Linked DNA regions of Homo sapiens: region 1 is linked to region 2. Evidence: promoter capture Hi-C in human tissues and cell types (Jung and others, 2019). All regions are on one chromosome and are shown on one strand. Each heading gives the region's core, a stretch centred on a gene start or on the middle of the fragment in contact. The rest is flanking DNA. Distances are from core to core; before and after follow the strand shown.

Region 1 (6,513 bases), core at 20-2,519, 55 kb before region 2:
GCTCACGGTTTGTGAATGCACCAATCAACACTGTATCTAGCTACTCTGGTGGGGCCTTGGAGAACCTTTGTGTCGACACTCTGTATCTAGTTAATCTGGTGGGGACGTGGAGAACCTTTGTCTAGCTCAGGGATTGTAAACGCACCAATCAGCACCCTGTCAAAACAGACCACTAGGCTCTACCAATCAGCAGGATGTGGGTGGGGCCAGATAAGAGAATAAAAGCAGGCTGCCTGAGCCAGCAGTGGTAACCCACGACAGTTCTCTTCCACGCCGTGGAAGCTTTATTTTTTCGCTCTTTGGGTCCACACTGTTTTTATTGAGCTGTAACACCATGAAGGTTTGTAGCTTCACTTAAGCCAGCGTAGACCATGAGCCCCCTGGGAGGAACAAACAACTCTGGATGCGCTGCCTTAAAGAGTTCTTAACACTCACTGTGAAGGTCTGCAGCTTCACTCCTGAGCTAGTGAGACGACGAACACATCCGTAACAGCAGAAACAAACTCTGGATGCACCACCTTAAGAGCTGTACCACTCACTTCGAGGGTCTGTGGCTTCATTCTTGAAGTCAGTGAGACCAAGAATCCACCAATTCCAGACACATAGATCCTATTGCTCTAGGCAACGCTTATGCTGATGAGGTGGCTAGACAAGCAGCTAGCATTCCAACTTCTGTCTGTCATGGCCAGTTTTTCCCCCTACACGTTGGTCACTCCCACTTACTCCCCCGCTGAAACTTCCACCATATCAATCTCTTCCCACACAAGGCAAATGGTTCTTAGGCCAAGGAAAATATCTCCTTCCAGCCTTACAGGCCCATTCTATTCTGTCATCATTTCATAACCTTCCATGTAGGTTACAAGCCGCTAGCCCGTCTCTCAGAACCTCTCGTTTCCTTTCCATCATGGAAATCTATCCTCAAGGAAATAACTTCTCAGTGTTCTATCTGCTATTCTACTCAGGGATTGTTCAGGCCCCCTCCCTTCCCTACACATCAAGCTCGGGGATTTGCCCCTGCCCAGGACTGGCAAATTGACTTTACTCACATACCCTGAGTCAGAAAACTAAAATACCTCTTGGTCTGGGTAGACACTTTCACTGGATGGGTAGAAGCCTTTCCCACAGGGTCTGAGAAGGCCACCGCGGTCATTTCTTCCCTTCTGTCAGACATAATTCCTCGGTTTGGCCTTCCCACCTCTATACAGTCTGATAACGGACCAGCCTTTATTAGTCAAATCACCCAAGCAGGTTTTCAGGCTCTTAGTATTCAGTGAAACCTTCGTATCCGTCACCGTCCTCAATCTTCAGGAAAGGTAGAACAGACTAATGGTCTTTTAAAAACAGAACTCACCAAGCTCAGCCACCAACTTAAAAAGGACTGGACAATACTTTCACCACTTTCCCTTCTCAGAAGTCAGACCTGTCCTCGGAATGCTACAGGGTACAGCACATTTAAGCTCCTGTATAGACGCTCCTTTTTATTAGGCCCCAGTCTCATTCCAGACACCAGACCAACTTGGACTGCACCCCAAAAAACTTGTCATCCCTACTATCTTCTGTCTAGTCATACTCCTATTCACCGTTCTCAACTACTCATAAATGCTCTGCTCTTGTTTACACTGCCCTTTTTCACTGTTTCTCCAAGCCATCACAGCTGATATCTCCTGGTGCTATCCCGAAACTGCCACTCTTAACTCCCTGTTAAAGTAAATAAATAATCTTTGCTGGCAGGACTATGCTGAACCTCCTTAGGCACTCTCTAATTGGATGTCCAGGGTCCTCCCAATTCTTAGTCCTTTAATACCTGTTTTTCTCCTTCTTATTCCGTTCTTTTTTCAATTCATATAAAACCGTATCCAGGCCATCACCAATAATTCTATACGACAAATGTTTCTTCTAACAACCACACAATATCACCCCTTACCACAAAATCTTCCTTCAGCTTAATCTCTCCCATGCTAGGTTCCCACGCCACCCCTAATCCCAGCCCTGAGAAACATCGCCCATTATCTCTCCATACCACCCCCAAAAATTTTCACCACCCCAACACTTTGCCACTATTTCATTTTATTTTTCTTATTAATATAAGAAGACAGGAATGTCAGGCCTCTGAGCCCAAGCTAAGCCATCATATATTCTGTGACCTGCACATACACATCCAGATGGCCGGTTCCTGCCTTAACTGATGACATTCCACCACAAAAGAAGTGAAAATGGCCTGTTCCTGCCTTAACTCATGACATTATCTTGTGAAATTCCTTCTCCTGGCTCATCCTGGCTCAAAAGCTCCCCCACTGAGCACCTTGTGACCCCCACTCCTGCCCACCAGAGAACAACACCCTTTGACTATAATTTTCCTTTACCTACCCAAATCCTATAAAACGGCCCCACCCCTATCTCCCTTTGCTGACTCACTTTTCGGACTCAGCCCGCCTGCACCCAGATGAAATAAACAACCTTGTTGCTCACACAAAGCCTGTTTGGTGGTCTCTTCACACGGACGCGAGTGAAACTGGGTTCAAGCGATTCTCCTGCCCCAGCCTCCCAAGTAGCCGGGATTACAGGCATGCACCACCATGCCTGGCTAATTTTGTATTTTTCGTAGAGATGGAGTTTCACCATATTGGCCAGGCTGGTCTTGAACTCCTGACCTCAGATGATCCGCCCACCTCAGCCTTCCAAAGTGCTGGGATTACAGGTGTGAGCCACTGCGCCCAGCTTATAATTTTTTTTTTTTTTTTTTTTTAAGAGACAGTGCCCTGCTCTGTTATCCAGGAAGGAGTGTGGTGGCATGATCATGGATTACTGCAACTTTGAACTCCTGGGCTCAAGTGATCCTCCTGCCTCAGTCTCCCAAAGTGCTGGGATTACAGGTGTGAGCCACTGCACCTAGCCCCAAGGAAATAATTTAATACCAATCAATGAAGGCCTTTTTCTGATGAAAAGCTCTTTCAAGAATGTTTACGTGGAGCCACAGACTTTTCCTGGTTGTAAAGAACCTAAAGGTTGTATATTTAAAAATTAAAAGATATTCCAGCTGGGTGTGGTGGCTCATGCCTGTAATGCCAGCACTTTGGAAGGCCGAGGCGGGTGGATCATGAGGTCAGAAGATCGAGACCATCCTGGCTAACACAGTGAAACCCCATCTCCACTAAAAATACAAAAAATTAGCCAGGTGTGGTGGCGGGTGTCTGTAGTCCCAGCTACTCAGGAGGCTGAGTCAGGAGAATGGCGTGAACCTGGGAGGCGGAGCTTGCTGTGAGCCAAGATCGCGCCACTGCATTCCAGCCTGGGCGACAGATCGAGACTCAGTCTCGGAAAAAAAAAAAAAAAAAAAAATTAAAAGATAGTCCAAGATTATCATGGCTTCTCTATGCAGAATCCCTGATGGGAAGTTATACAGCCTATCCCTGAACACCTCCCTTGACAAGGTGCTCCTACAGAGCCAGTGATTGCACACATATGTGACAAGTAATTTACATGTGCATTTCATTTAATCCTCATAATAATTGCCTTCTGAAGTGGCTACCATGATCACCATTTTTTGGACAAAGAAGGTATGGCTCAGAGAGATTAAAATCCTTGCCCAAGGCCATACAACTAGGAAGGAAAAAAAATAACTTACTTTAGGAACACAGGTTCATCTGTTCCAGAGGCTGTGCTGTTTCCACTCTGGGGTAGGCAGGACTCTAAGGTGGCCCAAGATTCACCTGGCTCGTGGTATATACTGTTGGCAAAATGAGTCAAACTCTGTAAAATATTCGAAGAGGTTTATTCTGAGCCAAATATGAGTGACTAATGGCCCATGATACCGTCCTCAGGAGGTCTTGAGAACATGGGCCCAAGGTGGTCAGGGTCCAGTTTGCTTTTATACATTTTAGGGACACAGAAGGCGTCGATCAATACATATAAGATATACATTGGTTTGGTCTGGAAGGGTAGGACAACTGGAAGGAGGGGGGCTTCCAAGTCATAGATAGATTCAAAGGTTTTCTGACTGACAATATGTAGAAAGAGTTATCAATAGAATGCCTGGGTTATGATAAGGGATTGTGGAGACCAAGGTTTTGTCATGCAGATGAAGCCTTCAGGTAGCAGGCTTCAGAGAGAATAGATTGTAAACGTTTCTCATCAGACTTTAAGAGTCTGTTCTATCAGCATTTCCAAACGGGAGGAGGGAATGCAGAGACATGTCCAGCTCCCACTTCCCATCATTGCCTGAATGAGTTTTTCAGGTTAACTTTGAATGACCTTGGCTGAGAGGAGGGTTCCATTCAGATGGTTGGGGGGGCCTTAGAATTTTATTTTTGTTTTACAACACTCACCTTTTCCCGGTTGTTCAATCAAGCATAAATCTAGGTACTGCTGTGACAGGATTTTGCAGGTGCAATTAAGTTTCCAAGTCAGTTGACCTTAAGATAGAGAGATGATCTCATTGGCCTCCCCTAATCACATGAGCCCTTTTGAAGAAGAAGATTTCTCCACCCATTGACAGACAGGATATTCGAGTTTGGAAGCAGTAGAGACCCCCTCCTGATGACCTTGAAGGATCCGATAGCCTGCTATGGAGAGGGCCATGTGGCAGGGAACAGAAGGCAGCCCCCAGGAGCAGGAAGCAGCCTCTGCTCAAAGGCCAGCAAGAAAACGGGAACCTCGGCCTATGACCGTGAGGACCTGGCCCCTGCTGAGCACGTGAGCAAGCATGGGAGAGGCCCCTGAGCTCCTGATGAGTGCAGCCCTCCCAGACCTGCTGGACTCCCAAGCAACGGAAACTGTAAGGTGATCCTGGTGCGTTAAGCTGCTGACTTTGTGGTAACCTGTTAAAATAGCAAACTGGTAGACGAGTTCTTCTTTGATGAGTGATGTAGGTCAGGTGCCCCAAAGCACGCCTTGAGGCTAGGATCTGAGTGGAAGGTGATGAGGGCAGTGTCTGTCCTGGGAAGCGTTGGAAGTGCTGTGGGGAACAGAGCCAGGAAAGAGAAGGAAGCCAAGGGGCTGCCTCAGAACAGGTCACTGCTGCAGGTGGCAAGGGTTCAACCCAGGGGCATCTGTCAGAGACCAGGCAGAACTTCACTCTGCGTCGCCCCACCTGAGTGGAGGGGAGCTGGCTACTTAGCCTCCAGAAAGAGGTTTACCTTGCTGCACAAGTGACCCCTGGGGCAGGTCACAGTTTTTTTCAGTAAGAAGCCATCAGCAGGTCTGAGAAAAACAATGGCCAAAGGCACAGGGTGGGTCCAACAGTGTCTGCTACAAAGAATTTTGATGGGAAAGTCCTTGTATCCACTGACAGTGGCCTTCAGCCATTGGACCTGCTGTGTCCCCTTAGCTGACCCGTCTGTCTTCTGCAGCTGCCATTCAGATTCCTGTCATTTTCATGCTGCAGCAGTGCTCTCCTCACTAGCTAAGCATTTCTAGTCCCTCTCTGGACCCACCATGAAGCAGGATTTTAAATACTTTGTAATCTAGAGAGGCACTGGACTCAGAGCTGAATGCAAAGGCCAGAGATGCTCTCACTCATTTAGTTGTTCTTGTCTGAAGGCTGGGATGATGCAGGTCTGATTACGTCACCGCTGGAGAGCCTCATCACACTGGTGACTCACAGGAAGCTGTCCTGGTTCTTTGTGCAGCTGCTGAAGAACATTTCACTTTCCCCGCCCCACTCCTCTCAGTGTATGGATGCTAGGCAAGGGCATGTCACCTGCGGGGTGAGCTCGGGCACCATGAGCGCCCGGTACTGCTGGCTGCCCCAGCTGGTCAGGGGCGCGAAGCCGGGCATGAAGAAGTGCAGGCGAGGGAAGGGCACCATGTTCACCGCCAGCTTGCGCAGGTCTACGTTCAGCTGGCCCGGGAAGCGCAGGCAGGTGGTGACCCCGCTCATGGTGGCCGACACCAGGTGGTTGAGGTCCCGTAGGTGGGGGTGGTCAGCTTCAGGGTGCGGAAGCAGATGTCATACAGGGCCTCGTTGTCAATGCAGTAGGTTTCATCTGTGTTTTCCACCAGCTGGTGGACCGAGAGGGTGGCGTTGTAGGGCTCCACCACCGTGTCTGACACCTTGGGTGAGGGCATGACGCTGAAGGAGTTCATGATGCGGTCTGGGTACTCTTCCCGGATCTTGCTGATGAGCAGGGTGCCCATCCCGGACCCCGTGCCGCCCCCCAGAGAGTGGGTCAGCTGGAAGCCCTGGAGACAGTCACAGCTCTCTGACTCCTTCCTCACCACATCCAGGACCGAGTCGACCAGCTCGGCTCCCTCTGTGTAGTGGCCCTTGGCCCAGTTATTCCCGGCTCCGCTCTGGCCTGCCTAAAACATCTGTCATTTTGACTATGGAGGAGGAGGTAGGACTGGTCTCAAACTGGCAGATTCTTCTCTTTTGAATACTCTTCTTTTACCTAAAGAAATATTTTTCTTCTTCTTTTTTGTTTTTTTGAGATGGAGTCGTGCTCTGTCGCCCAGGCTGGAGTGCAGCATCTCCATCCCGGCTCCCTGCAACCTCTGCCTCCCAGGCTCAAGCAA
Region 2 (6,877 bases), core at 728-3,227:
GAGTGGGTCAGCTGGAAGCCCTGGAGACAGTCACAGCTCTCTGACTCCTTCCTCACCACATCCAGGACCGAGTCGACCAGCTCGGCTCCCTCTGTGTAGTGGCCCTTGGCCCAGTTATTCCCGGCTCCACTCTGGCCTGCCAGAGGGAAAGAGAAATCTTAAGTCACCGGTGATTGTACTAAATACCTTACCTCAAACCCCTCAATATAGATCAGTGAGTCAATGCTCAGATAAGACTATTTCAGATTATCACCAAAATGGCCAAACGTTAAAATATTTGTTCATGAATATAATTATAAATAAGGAAGGCCAGGACACCAAGCTCTTAGCAGCTGAAAGGCAAACAATTTTACACTATATTAAAGCTAAGTTGGCACACCGCGGATGTTCTTCATGCTTTCCCTCTGGCAATCACACCTCTTCAGCCTCCACTGCCCAGCGTAAAATGAATCCCTCATGCTCTCAGCCACACCAGGCACTCACCAAACACGAAATTGTCTGGTCTGAAGATCTGGCCGAATGGTCCAGACCTAACCGAATCCATCGTGCCTGGCTCCAGATCCACGAGGATGGCCCGAGGAACATATTTGTTACCTGCAAGGAACAACAGTGACTTAGACCCTCAGGCAAGGACCTCTGCAGAGAAGGGCTTGGCGCCTGCTGCCATCATGCAGATGTTGCCCCAAACAAAGGGAGACCCACCATCAGGTTCTCAAAGGGCTCTGTTGGCATAAGGAAGCCCAATGAAATACTGCAGGGAAAGAGCGGGGATCCTAAACTGAATAGTCCACCCTCTCCCAGGGCCACACCCCTGGGGTCCCACGCAAGGGAAAGGGGAGAAGGTGGAAAAACTGAAGGGAGTGGGGGTGGGGCAAGGGTGATTACCAGTGGCTTCATTGTAGTAAACATTGATTCTCTCCAGCTGCAAATCACTGTCTCCATGGTAACTGCCAGTGGGGTCAATCCCATGCTCATCACTGATGACCTCCCAAAACTGAGACAGAAAGGCTGCATTTAGCCATGAACGATGCCCCCAGAAACGCCAAGGCTCACAATGAAATGTCCCCGACTCAGTTCCGACAACCCAACATTTCAGGAGCTTGAAGCTTTAAAGGGCGTCGTGACCCGGGCACAGCCGCGGGGCTTGTATTTTGCAGGTTCAGAAAGTTGAAACTGGGCGTTTCCCAGGCAAACAGCTGCCGCTCGCGGGGGGAGGTAGGGGTCGAGGGGGTAAGGACCAGCCAAAGCCGGGCAGTGGCGGAGCTTGGCGCACTGGTCGCAGCCCCAGGCTGCGGCAGGAGGCGAGGGCACAGGGACTGCAGCCCGCCAGGAGCGGGTGGGCGGGGAAAGAGGAACGCAAAGGAGCTAAAGGACCGCGGTTTTAGATTCAAAGCACGTCCTGAGACCGCAAGACAATCGCTCTCCTCCCCTCCCCCGGCAGCTCGACTCCGGTTCAAGCGAGTACAATTAATCCTCCTGGTGTCCCAGCCCCTCGCGCGGAGCGCCGCGCACAGCCTCGCGGACACACCCTCGTCTTCTCCAGGCACGCGTGCCTGCCAAGCAGCCAGCGCGGAGGGAGGCCGAGGGGGTGACGGGGACTCCAAATGAGTTACAGCAGAAAGAAAGAGAGGTGCCCCCTCCGTCCGCGAAAGTCACCTCCTAGCCCAGGCCACACTCGGCGGCACAAAGCGGCCAGGAAGGTCTGCATTTGGCGATCCCCAGGCCTTCCCAGGACCGCGCCTGGGGACCCCGAGGGGCTCTCGGCCCAGGTTCGCGCCCCCATTGGACCCCCTCCGCTGCGGCGCGCCCACCTTGGCGCCGATCTGGTTGCCGCACTGGCCCGCCTGGATGTGCACGATCTCACGCATGGTGCCTCGTCAGCGTCCTCCTGGTCCGGCGGCGTCTGGGTCTGTCCGTCCTCCCCTCACACACCCACTGCGGGGTCACCGGGAAGGCGCTCGGGAACCGACGGGCTGAGAGCGCCGGCCCCGCGGGCTCCGGCTTTTATGCAAGGAGGGTGGGGCGGCCGGCACAGGCCGCGCCCCCAGCCCGAGCCCCCCAGTCCCCTTCGCGCTGGCGCTCTCCAGGCCCGGCTGACGTAATGCTCCGAGCCCTAGGGACCGTCCGGGGGGCTGGACCACCGGCCCGCGGCCAATCAGAGCGGGCGTGCCGACCGGGAGAGGGGTGGGGGCTACCGGGAGTATGGTGGGGGCGTGCGCATTGTCTGGGGCTGTGGTGGGGGTCTGGGTATGGGGATATGGGGGAACAGTGAAGAAAAGGAGGGTGAGAGGGCGGCGAGGCGAGGGCCACCAGCGCGTCCTGACCGGGGTGGGGGCAGAGCTGGCACCGGATGGGAACGATGGAGGACTGGAGCATGTGGAGAAGCCGTCAGGTGCTCCAGTGCCGGCAGGTGGGAGGGCTGAGGTGGCACAGGCTGCTCCGCCACCTCGGACTGCGGCTCCTACTCGGCCACTGGCCAGAGTCCCTCCAGCCAACTGCCCCTGGTGAGACCACCGTCTTTTTCCTCAACCCTGGAGGCCAGCGACTGCCCAGGCGGCGCTCCGTCTCACAGAGGCCTGGGGGAGGACAGGTGGCCCCAGAAGGAAGTCGTGCTTGATGGCAACCGGGACACCTGCGGCCCATGAACACCAGCGCGGCCTCCGCCCCCGCCCCAGCGTGGGCCTGCTTTCTCCTTTGTCTGTCTTGGGCTGGTAGCTCCTCTCACTGCGCCGCAGCATCTAGGGGTGAAGCGACCTCGGAGCCCCTCAGCCCTGCCCGACCCTCTCCGGGAGTGCATAACGCCCCTGCTGGTACCCAGGAGCCCTCTGCCCCGGGGGTTGACTTTTGTTGCTCGCTAGTGATGGAGTGGGAGTGGCCGGTGGCGCTGCACTGACCGTCCGGAGGGCAGAAAGAGGGTGGGGTCCCGGGGGCGGGGCTGTCGGCGGAACAAAGGGCTCTCAGAAACGTGGGATACGCTGTGTAACCCAGTATTTAAAACCACACGACAGGCGCCCCACCCCCCCACCCCGCCCTCGGATTCAGTTCATCTATTGTCAAGTAAGAGGGTGGGTTCCAAGGGTGGCCCAAGCCCGAGTAACAAACTTTCTTATCTTCCATCGCGGCGACCTGGAGGTCCGAGGCTTCGTGCTGCGGTTGAAGGGTGGGGAATACGACTAAAAACTGCAGCCCAGCGCGCGCGAGACGACCCAAGACCCACGCGCACTCGCACGAGCGCGTGCACAGACTTGGAGCACAGACCCTCCCTTCAGATCCGCAGTCTCTAGGTACTGAGGCAGGAACTGGTCTCTTTGTTACTTTTCGCGCGCGCGTGTGTGTGTGTGTGTGTGAGAGAGAGAGAGAAAGAGAGAGAGAGAGAGACTAATCCTGCGTGCGTTTGAGGGCGGGAGGGGAAAGGGTGTCAGAAACGTTCACTGCACAACCTGTTCCCTGCAATTCGATGACTGAAGCGCGCCGCCCCACACTTCGGAAGGGCCGTTGGCGAGGTGACGTGACCTCTTTCATCCCCTGGCGAGAAAGGCCGAATGACCCGGGCGCACGCGGCGGAGCTCAGCCTGCAGCTGTTGAGCGAGACCCTCCCAGAACTATCAGCAAGCTGTCATCGCCTCCCTTTCCCGCTGTGGGGTGGAGGGTGGGGGGTTCAAGTCGATTCCAATGTACAAAGAGAAGTAGCGAGAACAAAAGCCCAGGCGCCCCCAAACATCCAGGGCGCCCAGACTGGAGCTCGCCGGCCGGTATTCCAGACCCGGCCGGCGTGCCCGGGTGAGGGTGGGGTCTACCGAGAGGCAGAGAGCAGCGGAGGGTCTGTCCACATGCCCTGCTCTCCCGGTACCAAGGTCTCGGGGCCTGACCTCCGAGTTTCTAATCCAGATCCTGCAGATGCCGAAACGTCGAGGGCTAGCAATTCCCAAGGTCATACAGCAAGTTGAGGACAGGGCTCGGACTGGAATCTCGTCTTTTGGGCACACCAGACCTCAGGGAAAGTGACCGCATCTCGGCCAAAAGGGCTGTGGCAGGTGTCAGCCTCGAGGTGGCGGCTCTGGTGGGACCAAGCTGCGCCGGAAGGAACAGAGCTAGGGCGGCACCCGCGCGGCGAGTGTAGACACACTCGGAGCGGTCACCCCCTCGCTGCGAGCTCCCAGGAGCAACCCTGATGCTCAGCGCTGGGGGGTGGGGTTGGGGGCCGCTCAGCTCCATGCTGAGTAACTTGAGCTGGCCGCCTGCCTCCTTCATCTAACCAATTCATTTCTCAGCTTCTGTTTCCGAGCCAAATCTCCATTCAGTGCCCGGGTGAAAACGCGTGTTCAAGATCATATAGATAGATGAAAAGACCCTTTCCTCTCAGGTTTCTTTTAAAGGGGTTGGTTTGGGATAGGATGAGGCTGGAAATCATCCTTCTGAAAGCCCAGAGTGCCCTTGGGGACACTTTTGGCCCAAGATCTGCTTTCCTTTCAAGCATTTTGCTCGAATTGTCCCCACACCCCTGCCCCTTCCGGGCAGCCAGTCTTGTTAACCGGTCTACATCGCACCCCCACCCCCACCCCCACTGGAATTGTGATGCTGCACATTTTTATTTTCACAAGGAGCCGATTTTGTGTTAAAATGTTGACAACAGCCACACCTTTCCCTGAAGTCTTTCAGTTTATCTGATAACCCTTAAACAAAAAAATCATTCTTAATCCATGTAGCTCGCATAAAGAGACTGGTACCCGGCTTTCAAAGAAAAAAAAAGTCGTTTTCAGTTGGGTCCCCAGCATTTCTGTCTATTCATTATATGCAATGCGTCTCAATCTAGGTCATCGTATATCAGGCACGAAGATTTCGGGGCAACATATTTCATGATCTCTTAATGTTAGTCTTGATGATGTACTAACATTTAAAAATTTTCCCTTCCAGAGACAATTGTAGAAATATTGCTGCATAAAATACAATTCAACATTTGTTTTATACGTAATCTATTGCGTGACTGAGGTGAGCAAGATATCCCTTAAACTATTAAAATTATATTTGCTTTCACAATTTTCAGATTACTTTCAACGGCATGTCCTCAAGTGAATTTGCATTTCTCTATTACACACACAGTCATTGTTTGAAGAAGTCTGATAGAAAAGAGGCTTTATATAGTAGTAAATTTTTAAAGCACTGTTTTCATAATGTAGCATATATTTTTGACACATTTATTGAAATTACTAGACATTTAGCATTAGGGTTCTTCACTGCTTGCCAGGATTCACCGCTTAAAACCCCAAAAACCCAGCCCGCAGCCCCCATAGCTGGCTCTGCAGCCGAGATGCACGCGGTTTCCTAGGCAACCGACACTTAGCCAATGAATGAAGAGGAGTTGAAAGAAAGAGACTGCAAATCCATCATTATTTCCTTACACACACACACGCACACACACACACACACACACACACACACACATCACCTCTTCTCATAGCTCTCCATTTAGAAATATTGGAAAGCTACCAATCCTAGCATTTATGTAAAAGAGCCAAATGCCCGGGGCATGGGGGCTAGGAAGCGGTCGCAGCCCCATACTGTGACTGCGGAAAGGACACAGTGGAGGAAGCTCCCGGGATCCGCCAAGATCTGCGCCTTCTCAGCTTTGTCGCTCCCCAGTTTCTATTCCATTGCCCTCCCCCTTCCCCCCAGGCCTTCCCTCCTCCGCCTGGGAAGCCAGCGGCCCCGGCGGAGCTGCCCGGCACTGTTTAGTCGCAGGGGCTGCGGGGTGGCAGCCTCAGAGCCCTGTCCTTCCGCAGCCGTGGGCCCCGCAGGGACCAGCCAAGCAGGGCAACCAAAAGCTGGAACCAGCAGCGAAAACCCCGAGCCCACGAACGCAGCGCAGTGCGGGAACACTTGCCCTTTGTTCCTCAGTAAGGCCGGGTGTTTTCGCATCCCCGGAGGTTGTGAATTTGAGTTATAATGGCCTCGGTCGGGACTGAGAGAGCCGAGCTTCCACGAGAGAGCTTTGCCTGCTTTGTCCTACAAATCGGCGGAGGGAGTAGCATCCTGGCTTTTCTAGGGCGCCATTTCCCTGCTACAGGCAATCTCCCCTCCCCCACGCTGTCAATGATTTGTGGGATTCTTAGGCAGGCGGGGCAGGCCGAGCCCAGGGAATGCACGCTGAGTCCTAGACACAGAGCCAGGCCGGGTGGAAAACAAAAAGAGAAGAAGTGATTATGAAATAATAAGACGGACCGTGTGCCCCTTGCAAGGTGCGGCCTGCGAAATCAACAGACTTATAAATAAGGTCTGGTGGAAGCGCAGGAGCGCACGCGGGAGGCTATGGCGGGGGAACCTCTGTGAGTTCCGCGGCGGAGGCTAGAACATCGCTGTGGCTGCGGGACCCTCACCCGGCGCTGAAAACCCTCCACATCAGCTCCTGCTCGGAAATGTCTCCGCAGCTCACCAGTGCTTTTCGAAATCTGCCCAAGACCTTTGTTTGCCATTTAAATGAAATGAAAACGTGCGTATCCAGGTGGACACATCCATGCAGCAACACCCCTGCCTCTGGGCTCTAGATGCTTGGTGGGCGGGCAGTCACTGTGGCCACACTGCAGAGACAGCAGTGCAGTTTCCAAACGGAGTTCTTTGGGCTTCACATGCCCAGCCTGCTTCTTTTTTAAAATTTCTATTTTAATTTTAGATTCAGGGAGTCCATGTGCGGGTTTATTACGAGGGTATATTGCATGATGCTGAGCGTCCGGGCTTCTATCGACCTGGTTACCCAGATAGTGAACGTAGTACCCAATAGGGAGTTTTTCAGCCCTTGCTCTGCTCCTTCCTTCTCTCCTTTTGGAGTCCTCAGCGTCTATTGTTCCCATCTTTTTGTCCGTGTGCACCCAATATTTAGCTC

Evidence for each region. Contacts are between HindIII fragments. The study calls those that stand out against the background at their distance.
Region 1: a contact is called between a fragment that was not itself captured here and the fragment with the promoter of TUBB2B in region 2, in 3 of the 25 tissues and cell types used here (H1 embryonic stem cells, mesenchymal stem cells and stomach).

The regions. Positions count from the first base shown.
Region 1 is chr6:3,171,347-3,177,859 of GRCh38, forward strand. It overlaps the pseudogene TUBB2BP1. Among named protein-coding and RNA genes, the nearest start is that of TUBB2A, 17 kb to the left of the region's middle. RefSeq lists an enhancer at 5,925-6,445. The HindIII fragment of the contact is 5,079 bases long and covers 1-3,809 here.
Region 2 is chr6:3,225,676-3,232,552 of GRCh38, forward strand. TUBB2B (tubulin beta 2B class IIb) reads right to left here and starts at 1,978. Exons shown (of 4, transcript NM_178012.5): 1 at 1,812-1,978; 2 at 886-994; 3 at 484-594; 4 at 1-136. The coding sequence starts at 1,868. It overlaps LOC100422781 (a long non-coding RNA gene), which reads left to right and starts at 5,728. Exons shown (of 2, transcript NR_147505.1): 1 at 5,728-6,487. RefSeq lists enhancers at 961-1,621, 1,622-2,280, 3,576-4,132, 6,125-6,877 and a silencer at 1,885-2,174. The HindIII fragment of the contact is 16,967 bases long and covers 1-6,877 here.